2 separate regions of the Homo sapiens genome follow, and region 1 is linked to region 2. Evidence: promoter capture Hi-C in 16 types of primary human blood cells and fetal thymus (Javierre and others, 2016). All regions are on one chromosome and are shown on one strand. The core of a region is centred on a gene start or on the middle of the fragment in contact, and the rest is flanking DNA. Distances in the headings are between cores, read along the strand shown.

Region 1 (6,774 bases), core at 4,264-6,763, 110 kb before region 2:
ATACTCCAGCATGGGCAATGGAGTGAGACCCTGTCTAAAAAAAAAAAAAGGAATGATGATTAATAGTAAGAGCAACTATGTTGTTGAGAGCCTACTATCTACCTGTCCCTAATTTAAGCACTTTACAGGGAATAACTCAAGATGTTTTTATCCTTGCTTTACAGATGAGGAAACCAAGGAGTAGAAAGTTGAGCAACTGGCCAGGCGCAGTGGCTCACGCCTGTAATCCCAGCACTCTGGGAGGCTGAGGTGGGTGGATCACCTGAGGTCAGGAGTTCAAGACCAGCCTGGCCAATATGGTGAAACCCCATCTCTACTAAAAATACAAAAATTAGCCGGGCATGGTGGTGCACACCTGTAGTCCCAGCTATAGGGAGGCTGAGGCAGGAGAATTGCTCCAACCAGGAGGCAGAGGTTGCAGTGAGCCAAGATCATGCCACTGCACTCCAGGCTGGGCAACAGAGTGAGACTCTGTCTCAAAAAAAAAAAAAGAAAGAAAGAAAGAAAGAAAGAAAGTTGAACAACTTCCTTGGTTCAAGATCACATAGCTAATAAGTGGTAGAGTCCAGATTCAAACCCAGGTAGCCAGGCTCCTGCAACTTTAAATTCTAACCCAAGACACATTTTTTTTTTTGCTTTTAAGGAGAATAAGTTTAACAGGCAAGAAAGAAGGAACAAGAAAACAGCTCCCCCATACAGAGACAGAAGGAGGGGGGATTTGAACAGAGAGAAAACCCCCAACGCAAGGTGCTTGATTCAAGAAAACACCCAAGATTGTAAGATTGGAAAGAAATGCAGTGGTGTTGCTGAATGATGGATAATATGTTGTTTAGGAGATCTTTTTCCCAACCACAACTTTGTTGAGTGCCTCCTTAGGGCTAAGGCTGAACAAGATGATGGTGCCCAGGACAGGCTGGTTTTGTTCAAATGGGGCATTCCCTGTACTGTGAGGCAAATCACATTTCCAAAGTGGGGTTTCATCTATATGGGGCTTGGTGAGGTAGAGGAGAGGGGGATTATTGATATAAATTTCTGGGTTAGTCTTTCATCACCATGATGGTCTGGTAATTTCTTGGTATAAATCTACTAGGAGTAATTTTTTCATATTTTAAGAACAAATGTTTTCATCCTTTGTCATAGCACAGACTTTTATCCATTCAGCAAGTATTTATTAGACACTCAACAATCCGCCAAGCCCTGTGCTAGGTGGTCAGGTGACAGCAGCCAATGGGGTAGAAAACCATTCTCATGCTAGAGGGAGAACTGAGATGATACAATGGTAACCAAATAAATAATTAAGATAATTCAGACAGTCACAAAGTTTATCTACAGCAAGCTCATGTGGTGTGGTGGTTGTAGGGGTATCATTTTAGAAGGTGTTGCTAGGGAAGAACTCTCTGAGGGGGTAATCTTTGAACTGAGACTCAAAGGGTGGGAAGAGGGTGAAGGTTGGAGAAAGGAGCTTGAGGTGGCAGATGCCCCCACGAGGAAGGCCCTGGGGCACACCACAAATTTCCAGCATACATTTTGAGACAAAACTGTATTTTTGTAATTAATGACTTTCACATCTTGCTGCTTAGAGATCCTTGCATCTCTAAGGATCTTCCGTTTCCAAAATTGGTGACACACACTTTCCTGGGAGGAGGTGGGATTTGGGGTTGCATGCAGAGGAGAGTGAAGGAGGGTAGGGCTCAGGTGTCAGAGTCTGGGATAAAAGGCGCTGCTGTATCCGTGGAGCCCAAAGCAGTGCCTGGCACAAAGCCAACAGTCCTTGAAGAGATGTGAAATGAACCAACTGGGGAAATAGGGGGGCGTTTCCATCACTTTTCTCTGGAAATTGACGGCCTTGTCAAGGTGGCTTTTGCAATAATGGGAAGGCAAGTCTAGGAACCCCGTCTACCTGCAGTCCTCCTCACATACACACTTCACTGCTTCAGAGATGAAGTTCAAGTTTGAGAAAAATTGAGATCAGCCAATAGAAATAAGGATCCATGAACCAGAGATAAGAATTGGTTCTTCTCTTTTTCCAAAAGGAGAGAAATAAAGAAAAAATATTGTGACCCTGTTCCCCAAGGTCAGGTTGTCTCAAAGGAAACAGAGTGTCCCATCAAATGGAGTTTGAGGGAAGAAAGACATTGAGAAATGGAAAATTGAGTGCAGGGTTGGGATTACCAAACAGCTCCTGGAGCAAAGGTTAAGAATGCTTTTGTGTTTTCCCATCATTTATCCCCTGATTGGTACTTGCTTTAGTATTTTATAGCTCATTAGCAAACAGCATTCTTGGAAATTGTAGGAACTGGCCAGGGAGGGCATTCTGAACTGCGTTCTTTAGGTTTTTATGATTTGAAACTGAAGGATCACTAAAAATCACATTGCATTTGGTAAATCTGTAGTTATTCAATATTTCCCTCTCTCAGTTTCATCCTTCCGTCTGAATTATAGCCTTCAGTAGCAGTGTTCAGAATGACAAATTTTTTTCTGATGGCTCTTGAGATTGAAATGTCTTGGCCTCCTAAAGTATGGGGGAGCTCTTTAATCTAGTTTCATTCAGCTAATTGGGTACTAAAATGTTATCCTTAATTCCAAACCGAAAAACTTTTTGTACCAGATCATACTTAGATTGGCCTTAAAAAGCTATCAGTCAAAGAAACAGAGGCTCCTAATGAGAAATGGTAAAAGCTGAGGGAGAAACCAGACTGCTGATATGCAAAATTTTAAGGAAATATTAAAGTTTACTCATCTTCTCAAAGAAGAGAATTATCATCACTGGAATAGCTAGAATAATTCTTATTTGTTTCTAGGAACAAGAATTGAATGCAGAAATGGCTAAATTGCACAAAAGAGTAGAGGCCTTTTCTTAATTAGAAGTGGAAATGCAAAAATTGATTACCTGCAAGTACTGTTGCTGTGAATTAAACTTGCTTTACCTGGTTCAATTTACAGCAACAGTACATGACAACAAAGTGTTAAGCCTTTACCCATAAAATTATAGCTCATTGTACAACCGAGAAATTATCCCACATGGAATTATATAATTGCCTTCATCCACAACTATAAGCATTTCTGTTACCTTCCTATAGAAGTTAAAATATTCTCATAGCAGTTTCAGCAATAAATTGAAATTGTAATAGTAGTTTATCATTTGCCTTAAGGTTTTTACTTTTACTAAGAACTAATAGTAGTGGAGAAACCATTGAAATTCTTGGTGTGGGCCAAGAATTCTTTTGAGAGCCTGTGACAATATAAGTTCACTCAAGTCATGTTCAAGTCTCAGTGAAACTTGATTCCACAAAGGCAGTACGTAGGTTGAAAATAAATGCTGAGTCTTTTATTTCTTTATGTCTAAAAAAAGAAAGAAAAAAGCTTTTTCACTTGCTTACCTCAAATAAACATTTAAATTTTCATTCGGAAGCCGAGGTGGGCAGGTCACTTGAGGTCAGGAGTTTGACACCAGCCTGGCTAACATGGCGAAACCCCGCCTCTACTAAAAATACAAAAATTAGCCAGGCATGCTGGCACGTGCCTGTAGTTCCATAGTCCCAGCTACTCGGGAGGCTGAGGCAGGTGAATCACTTGAACGCAGGAGGCAGAGGTTGCAGTGAGCCAGGATTGCACCATTGCACTCCAGTCTGGGTGACAGAGTGAGACCCTCTCTCAAAAAAAAAAAAAAAAAAAAAAAAGTCACTTTTTTGCAATTATAAAAAGACATAGAATTAACTGATCTACACATCTGACCACAGTGAGGGCTTTGTCATGGATAATTCAGTGCATCTTCTGAAACCCAAATCTTCACTGTGAGAGTTTAAATTCATTGGAGTTTTGAGGATTAATTTCTGTCGCTGCTCTTGAAATAAACAATGCCAATGAATTTTCTTTTGCATGCATTTGTTAGCGCTAGTTCAACAATGGTAACATTTAGAAGAATGCTGCCATATTGGGCTTTGCTTCTTGCTCATTTGATTTTTCCTACAATGATACTGATGCTTTGGGTCTCCTTCTCCCATGCTTGACACACTTTTTACAAAGTAAGCTCTAAATCATAGCAAACAAAATGCAGACTATAGCGAAAGGGCTTACCATAGAATGCAAAGGATGAGTATCACGAAGTTTGCCTATATACCGTCCATGTTAATGGGTCAAAAGAGAAGACGCCTTTGGCAGCTTAATAGGGTTGAAAGGCATCTAAGAGCATTGAGTCCCTTTCTGTTTTGTTTTGTTTTGTTTTTTAAACAAAAGCCCTTGGCAAAATGATAATTAAAAAATGCTTGTTTGATGTCATTTCATGTGTGTGCCTGTGCATGTATGGATCCAACAGCCAGCAATATTCTTAATATTCTTGAAGTCAGGAACAACAAAACAGTACCTATTCTCACCACTATTAATTTTGGTCTGGAAGTGATGGTTCGCACAATTAGACCAAAAAAAATTGAAGTCGAAAATATGAGAAAGGAGAAGGTAATATTGTGATTACGTGTGGATGATATGATTGTACAGCTTAGAAAACCCCCACAGAAAATTCACCTGGTGTACGATAATAAAAGCTTAACACTCACTGAGTGCCCAGGCCCCATTCTAAGTCTCTTAATACTCGTATACTATCTAACTATAATAATAAAAGTTAGCATTGATGGAGTACTTACCATGCACACGTGTACTACTTAAGTGCTTGCTATTCTTACACCATACAACCACAACGGTAAGATTCTCATAGGCACTGAGTGTCTATTACGTGCCAGACCCTGTTGAAATACTTTAATGCTCATAACAATTAAGAGGCTTTAAATCCTATTTCTGTTACATAATATAAATTAACATATTACTACAAATGTATTTCTATAATATACTTTATAGTGTAATTATACTTATGTAATATGTTACATATTAAATTGCATATAATTTATATTACATTATATAGTTTATATGTTATAGGTTATTAATATTGTTATATTTTATATTACTACATATTTATATTTATATATTCATGTGTTACAATTATACATGTACAAAGTGATATGATATTGTATATTGTTATATATAATTTATATCATATTATATGACAATATATTATATTTTATTATATGGATTAAGGCTACATAACTTCAATTTAAATGTATAACTTTTATATCATTTTCTAATTATATATGCATAACTCGATATATTACATTAAATTATATAATTTATATTATACTGTGCTACATTATATTTTATTATATATTATAACACTGTACTTTTACATTACTACATATTTATATTTACACAGTATATTTCATATCATATAATTACACCTGTATAAGGTGAATTACATATTACATATTAAACCATATATAATTTATATTATATTAGACTACCTTACATTATATTTTAAAATCTCACTGTTTATAAAGGCAGAAACTGAGGCTCCGAGAGGTGTCCCTTGCCAGAAGTCAGGGAGCAGCTCACGGGCAGAGCTGGGGTTCCAGCCCCACTTTGGTTCCAGAAGCCCAGCTTTTAACCCTCAGGAACCGTCCAAGACCTTGCCTGGTGGAGGGGAGCTTCACCTGCCTGCTCACTCGCTACTTTGACAGGAAGTAGCAACAGCCCTGCCAAGGGCCACAGTTGTATGAATGTGTGTGAGTATGGGTGTGTATAACAGTGTGTGTGGGGTGTGTGCAAGAGTGTGTGTGTGCGTGTGCGTGTGTGTAAGGCAGTCATTTTTTAAATCCCAGATGAAGCATGGTGGCTCACGCCTGTAATCCCAGCACTTTTGGAGGCCAAGGCAGGAGGATCGCTTAAGGTCAGGAGTTCGAGACCAGCCTGGCCAACATGGTAAAACCCTGTCTCTACAAAAAATGCAAAAATTAGCCATGCACATGCAGCCCAGGACAGCTTTGAATGTGGCCCAACACAAATTCATAAACTGTCTTACAACATTAGGAGATTTTTCTTTTAACTCACCAGCTATTGCTAGTATATTTTATGTGCAGCCCAAGACAATTCTTCTTCCAGTGTGGTCCAGGGAAGGCAAGAGATCGGACAGCTCTGCTCTAAGTTAACTCTAAATTTAATGCAACCCCAGAGTAACCTGATCTTTTTAATGTGGCAAAATCATCTTATAGTTCATCTGGAAGAATAAATTATCTCAGAGAATAGCAAATAGAATTCCAACAGTGAAGGCTGTTGGCCATGGGGTTGCCCTACCAGATATCACACATATTATAACACGTTCTAGTGTGGTTCTAGTACAGGAACAGACAGAGCCTGGGAACAAAACAGAAGACCAGAAACAGGCCAAAGTTTATGGAAATTTAATATATGATCAAAGGGGCATTCAGATGTATTAGTCGGGATTTGTTATATGTAACAGAAATGCAATATAAAATACCTTAAACAAAAGGCAAAATTAGTTGAAAGGTTCCTAATACTCTGTAAAGAGCAAGGGTGTATATCTGCATTTGGCCTCATTCCCCTAGACCAAATCTCTTTTTCAGTCTGTGACAAAGCCTGTCCCAAGCTTCAGAGCTTCCAACCTCACCGTCACAGGCTGAGAAGCAGGCAACGGGCTGAGCAGTGTATTCACTGGCGTGCTTCTATTTCTATTAAAAGGCGGTTAGTGTGCATGTGGTGTTGAGGGGAGAATGTATCTTTGTGTGAATATGCTTAAAAGGCCTAACTGGTATTACTGGATGCCCCAGGGAGGAGATACACAGCAGTGATCTTTTCCCCCCTATTGGATCTCCGGAGGTGGGAATCGTTATCTTCCTCATTCTGTGGCCAGACTTTCACTGGTGTGTGCAA
Region 2 (6,642 bases), core at 895-3,394:
CAAATACACTGACTAAAAAATGAATAGAACCCAAAACTAAAATTATTTTGATCTTTATGGTGCTCCAAAAACTTAAGATGCAACTGTTCTTCTAAATAAATCCATAACTTACAGATTATTCCTTCTTTACTTTCACAATTTTTACGTTGCTGCCAGAAGTCTTCTCAGCATTTGCTTTGAATTCTGTCTTCAGTGCATCTCTCACTGCTTTTGCACAGATCTGGGAGTATCGGATGTAGCTGGGAGAAAATGAGAGAAGGTATATGGTTAATTATCAATATTCCAGCCAGACAGCTGTTACTGTGTTTTCGCTTTTCTTCCTGTACTTTTTATTTTGGTTTGGTTGTACCTTATTGTAGAATTGGATTTAAAAATATGACTAATGCCAAAAAGTATCTATACAAAGAAAAAGAACTAGAAAAAAATGTACCAAAGTATTAACTGGTGTTTGGATGGATGATCTTTGATTTTTCTTCTTTGTACTGTGTTTTCTCTTTAGTGTATATTAATTCAAAATGAAAGATGCATAAATGTTTTTAAAAATCCCACAGCATAGAAAAAAAGAGACTGAAATGTTTAGAGACTATAACATGAATCATGAATTCTCTCCTCGATTTCTCTCCTTAAAACTTTAATTATATTATTCTTGGAAAATGAGGTATACATAAGAGAAAACTATTTTGAATTAAAACAATTCGTTCTAAATTATTTAAACTCTTCTCTGAGAATACTGAATTCTGTCTCACAAGTCTGCCACTGAAAATAACCTCCTAATGAAGATTTCTAAATCAAACTGAAAAGTGCTTAGAGAACATCATCAATTCTAGCAAAACTGTAAAACCTGCTTCCTGTTTGGTAGATGGACTCCCATCAACACTGTAGTTTCCAAAAGATGTCAGATCACCTTTCCCACTTTTGAAAAACAGGAAGCGGGGAGGGGTGCTATTTTCTCATGTTTTAGAATTTATTTTGGGGACTCAGAGGTATGAGTTCCAATGCCTGCTTCCATTCTTACTAACTGGGTGACCTTCAGGCTGTTCAACCTTTTCAGCACGTTTACTCACTCACCTGAAAAAAACAACAGAATAAAAGGACAATAATACCTGTCCTGCTGATAGCTGGGAGGAGGAAAAACAAGTGTGAAAAAGTATGGATCACAGGGTAGGTTGCCTAATAAACGGTATCTACTACTGGGACTATCATCCTTCCATCCTTCCAATTCTACAAGACTTCGCTGGCTTGACCTCAGCAAGTCGGGAAGCTCCGCTGTAGTGTACCCACAAAATGTAAAGTGCTACACCATCCAGTCAACTAACAAGGTGTGTCACCTAGAGCAAGGTACTTCTGCTCACTCAGGTGCACGGGTAAAAAAAAATCGGATGTGACAGCTAGACCAATGGTTTGCGGTTCCACTATGAGACACCATGTCCTCAAGTGGGTTCCATATTTGAGCTTTCCAGGAGCCACCTCTCATCTTTGTGAGGGGCTCTCGACAGTTATGGCTTTCACCCCTTTTAGACATAAGGAAACCTGAAATCAACAGGACTTAAAAGTTTAAAAAAAAAATGTGTAAAGTTGTAAAAGGCTCCACCTCGATGCTGGATTAAAGGTCAAAGCTGCTAACGGCGGTCACGTGGAGAGAAATCTCCTGTTTCCCGAGGTGGATGTGACTGTACTACTTTCACCACCTGGCTCCAGCACCATTCTAGAAGAAAAAGGTTTGCTAAATAAGAGCTGGCCTCTCTCTCGAGAAACCTGCCATTCACAAAGGTGTCCAGGGGCACTCTGTGGGTGCTGGGCCGCACCGTCGGGAAGCGAGGCAGGACACAGACGCGCTCCCACGCGAGGTCGAGGCCGCGCCCGCCTGAGCGCTTTGCCCACAGCGACGCCATCTTGGCGGCGACGCCCGAGGCTTGGCCCAACCCCGGTCACGCGTGGGGCCGCTGCTCTGTGTCCTGCATGACCTCTGGGCACCGGGATGCGCGCGGGCCGGCTCGCGAAGCCCTTCCCTCTGGAGGCCTGGGCCTACCTGAGTCCAGCCTGTCTCCAGTAGGCCACCATGCTGTAGCGAAAGCGGAGCTCGTCGGGCCGAATCGCCAAGACGCCGGCAATGTCGGCTCAGCCGGGCGGTTCAGCCGCAGGAAGATCAGACCACAGAAGCGGAAGAGGCGGGGCGTGCGGACCTGCCAATCACCGCCTCCTACCCGGCCCCGCCCCTGAGCACGGCCCCTGCTGCCCTGCCGCGGAAGCCCCCCGGCGCCGGGAGCCAATGGGCGCGCGCGGTCTGGACTGCGGGTGCCAATCCCGGGGCGGGCCGGCCGGCCGCGCCCACCTATTGGCTCCAAGAGCTCCCGGGGCGTGTGTCCCCCGACCTTCCGTATTACCCCGGCGGGGACGACGGGGGCAAGAAGGCCGGGGTGTCCCCGCTCGCTAAGGACCACTGAGCCGCGTGCTTTCGGGAAGCGAGGACGCGAGGCGGCGCGGGCACGGCCGCCCCGAGGGCCTGGCTTTGCGCCCGCTTCAGGGAAACGGCGCCGGCTTTTTTAAATCTGTGGACAGACAAGCGTGTCCTGAGAGCTGAGATTTAGAAAGGCTCTTAGGGCACCCCCTTTCTCGGAGTGACACTAAACCCTGGAAACCCAGTGGAGGACCCCCTAGCGTTTTCTGTAGTTCTAGGACCTGCTTCCGATGTGCGACAAGACGGAGGGTAAGGCAACAGTTGTCACTGTTGCCCGGAATGGATGGGAAGAAAAATGTGAGGAAAACCCACTGGAGGCACAGGGAACTGCCAGGCGGCCGGGAAAATGCTCATCTCAGAGCCTGTGATTTAGAGAAACTAACCCAACGCAGTGAAGGCTCACAGTCTAGGAATTAAAGTGTTTCTCTCATAAAGAAAAAAAAGCCTTTGCCCTTCACCTTTAATTACTAAAAAGAAATTATAATCAGGAAAAACATCACTTAAAAGAAAGTTTTTATTAACAAAAGTTTTCCTTAATTCACATTTCAACTTTATTAAATAGTCCAAGGGTTTCATTTATGAACACTTATTCCAGTTTAGTTCTCTTAAATTCATTTGCTTGTTGTGCATTTATGTTTAAAAAGGTAACTAACTGCACTGGAAAATGAAAATTTATAGTTTTATCAATAGGTCAGTTTTTAAAAAATCAAAGGATAAGGATTTAAAAATATTAGGGCATTACACCTTTTTCAGAACAAGGATAATTTACAGAAATTATACAAAGCAGATTTTCATCAAATATCAATTATTTAGCGATGTTTTATTTAGCTGAAATGTTATTTCACTTGTAAAAACTATCTCCGGTTACAAAAAAAAATCAGAAACCTTATTAAATTTAACCTGCTTTTACAAATGTCCTAAGAAGTCTTAAGCTAAACAAAATTTAAGTAGGAAAACGATAATTTAAAAATAGTGTGTTATACTATTTCTGTGGTTTATGTACATATATTAACTGGTCTCTTGGATAGGAAACATGACTAGAAGTTTATCACACTAAGCACTGTAAAATAAAGGCAAGAGCTAATCATCTTCTAGCAAAAATAGTCTCTATGCAACAATTGCAAATGTCAAAGCTATTATTTAGTAGTTAATTGCCTGCTACAATACATAAAACAAAGTACATTTACTGGATTGTTTTTCAGTTTGCAGCTGCCCTCTTGACATCCCAAATAAGGAATTCCCGTTAAGTAAAACCTGCAGTGCAATTCACTCAGTGGTTAGTTTCAGGCCAAGCCTCCCCCTACCATTATGCTTGTTCTTCCCCACCGCCCCCAAATCCTGCAGTGGCACCATATTATTAAAAACACTAAGTACCTGGGATTTATGCCTCAGAGCAAGACATCATTTGAGTAATTTCAAATGATACACAGCTCCTTCATGTAAAAAAGATGTTTTGTGGTCACAATTACTTCAAAAAGTAATTATATTCAAATAACCTGACATATCATGCCTTAGCAATTACAAAACCATGATTTTGACACATGGCAATTTTTAAGTTAGGCAAATGTAAAATGCTAAAAGATGTGAACAGCTGTTCTTCTGTTTAAGTTAGAGCACTGCAAAACTCAGGTAATGACTTTATTTTTTTCAGTTAACATAACCAGCCCACGATACAGCATACTAAATCACAAAGTACAAATCCAAGGAAGTTAATACCTTTACTAAGTTACAAAACTTGGGCAAATCAATACAGTACTCTTTTATAATGAAACCATACTTTTGTTGGAGTCATGTTACTTTAGTGATAATTTTCACTCCAAAAATATTTAAGTACCAAATCAAAACACTGGTTTTTAATGGTGGTTTATAGCATAGTAAGGTATTTTACACAAAATATATTTTAAAACTACACAATTTCTCCTTTTAAGTGAGCTCCCTTGTGCAAGCTGCTGAAGTGTACAGCAGCAGGGCAATGGGCGTCTATAGGAGGTGGCTCTGCTCTGTTCTGGGGTTGGTCCAAAGTCAGGTGGAGTTCCAATGTATGAAAAGCTTGAAAAATCTACCTTAAGGAGACTGAATATCAATACCAGTTTCCAAGGAGTTCTTGTTGAATTTTCACAGAAATACTGGAACCCTCAAAATCAGATAGTAATTTCAAACAACATTAATTTCAGATGATCCCTTTTATTTAGAGGCCCTGCATCTGTTTTGATCAAGTCACATAGCCTTACACCAACTTATCAAAAAAAAAAAAAAAAAAACTACCCAAAATATAGTTGTATTTTTAAAATAACAAATAAATATATAGTCAGTTTGGAGAGACCTGGAGTACCCGATGTTGTCTACCAACTGTCACGATCACTTCTCTGCAAACGCTGCTGCTGCCATTGGAGTCCTTATGGTTCCTCTTGCTGAGGCTGTCAGTTCTTCAATCTCAGCATTTAATTTATGTATTACCCATTCCATTGCTTCTCGGCCCTTAAAAAAAATCCAATACATTTATTGTTACTGAGGGAGAGCAAAGGCATATATCGAACTAATGACACACCAGGAAGTAACAAGGGGCGTGACAAGTTTAACTCAATCTCAGGATGACAGATCGTTTTTGTCCTGGCTTTTTCTAATGTTATTTAGCAAACATCAAATGCCTTGAGCAACTGGCTTGATCCATAAACTGACTTTTACTTTGTATGCAAAAGATGTTCTCAAATGAATCTACAATTAAATGACAGAATGTCTTATTTGTTTCATGATTATAGTGGTCCCCTTTTTAGGGGCAAGAAGGTCAAATCCCTTTTCTTTACATTTTAAACCAAAATCCTGTGCAAGGTCCTGCAGGATCTGGTCCTCAACTCACTCCTCACCCCTTCTCTCCTAGTGTTCTATATAGTTCCTTGAAAAACAGAGCATTCCCTACTTCCTGTCTCAGGGCCTTTGCACACGCAGCTCCTCCACCTAGAACACTCTTCTTGGAATACCCCTCGCAATCCACCTGCCCCCATTTGGCAGTCAGCAGAAACATCAGTTACTGAACACTCAATAAGCACTCTCATACCTTTCTGTACCTTTTCTTTCCTAATTACATGCTGTATGATTAATGTCACCTGCCTCTTAGTTCCACGGGGGCAGGGACCACATTTGTTTTGCTCCCTGCTGTATACCCTGTCTAGCCTAGCACTCTGCATGGCACAGAGAAGGCATCCATGAGTATCTCTTGATAACCACATTCACCATGTGTTATGTAACAGTGCATGGCATCTTTCTCTAAACTTACTGTTTCAGATCATGCATTCTCAATAAGCAAAAATTGGTTCTTGGGGGGATGGAAAAAATCTCCCTCTTTTATGTATAAAGCCCACACATATGTATATGATATATGACTTAATGGAGGTGGCAATTAGGGAAAAAATGTCTAAAACGAGTTGTGGGGGAGACAACAGTGAAAAAAGGTTGAGAAACAGTGCCTTAAATGACACGCAGCTACACATCATCGAGCACTTCCTCAGTGCTGGGCCTCAGGCTACACACTTTCCATATGTTATCTCATTCACTCCACGCCAACCCTGTAAAACGGGTAATCTCCACTTTAAAAACGGGAAACTGAGGCATAGAAAGGTTAACTTAGTTGCCCAAGGTTAAAAGGCTAAAAGTTAGAGCTTGGATGTGAACCCAGAGCCTTTGTAAGTAACTGCCCAACGTGCTGCAGTTTCCTATGGTAGAATGGGCAAGGGTCAGCTTACAAGGACACACATGCAGTCAGCACCCCATTCCATTCCCAGGAAATGAACCAGGGAATAATAACCAAGAAGCAGCCTCACTTACTTTACTAGCATTTGAGGATATCGTACTTGCCATCAGTCCTTCAAGGTAACTGCTGAGGCTAACTCCTTTCACGGTAATTATGGCTTCTTGTGTCAAAACAGTTCTGGAACAAAACATATTCACACAGGTTCAGATGACCCAGCTTTCATTTTCAAAAAACTTGATAAAAAAACCTTAAACACCCTTTACGATACATTTGTTAAAATATTTTTTACTCACTTTTCTGGATCCTGAGGATGTGGTTTGTATATAAGTCTCTCATCTACTGAAACCATGTTTGTAAATGAAATCTACAGAATGAAGAAAAAAAAAAAAGATCAAATCATTTTGGAACTGAAGATTCAAAATGTTGCTAAAATCAA

The links. The method cuts DNA at HindIII sites, captures the fragments that hold promoters and counts their contacts. A CHiCAGO score of 5 or more calls a contact.
Region 1: a fragment that was not itself captured here is called in contact with the fragment with the promoter of ATP5F1E in region 2 in 1 of 17 cell types (naive B cells); the score reaches 5.3 in naive B cells.

What each region holds. Positions count from the first base shown.
Region 1 is chr20:58,920,010-58,926,783 of GRCh38, forward strand. No RefSeq gene overlaps it. Among named protein-coding and RNA genes, the nearest start is that of GNAS, 32 kb to the left of the region's middle. The HindIII fragment of the contact is 1,949 bases long and covers 4,540-6,488 here.
Region 2 is chr20:59,030,191-59,036,832 of GRCh38, forward strand. It overlaps ATP5F1E (ATP synthase F1 subunit epsilon), which reads right to left and starts at 2,145. Exons shown (of 3, transcript NM_006886.4): 1 at 2,030-2,145; 2 at 113-239. The coding sequence starts at 2,061. The coding sequence ends at 116. PRELID3B (PRELI domain containing 3B) reads right to left here. Exons shown (of 6, transcript NM_016045.3): 4 at 6,500-6,570; 5 at 6,281-6,383; 6 at 2,955-4,936. The coding sequence ends at 4,817. It overlaps SLMO2-ATP5E (SLMO2-ATP5E readthrough), which reads right to left. Exons shown (of 6, transcript NR_037930.1): 2 at 6,500-6,570; 3 at 6,281-6,383; 4 at 4,782-4,936; 5 at 113-239. RefSeq lists an enhancer at 1,939-2,078 and a silencer at 2,099-2,388. The HindIII fragment of the contact is 5,173 bases long and covers 1-4,505 here.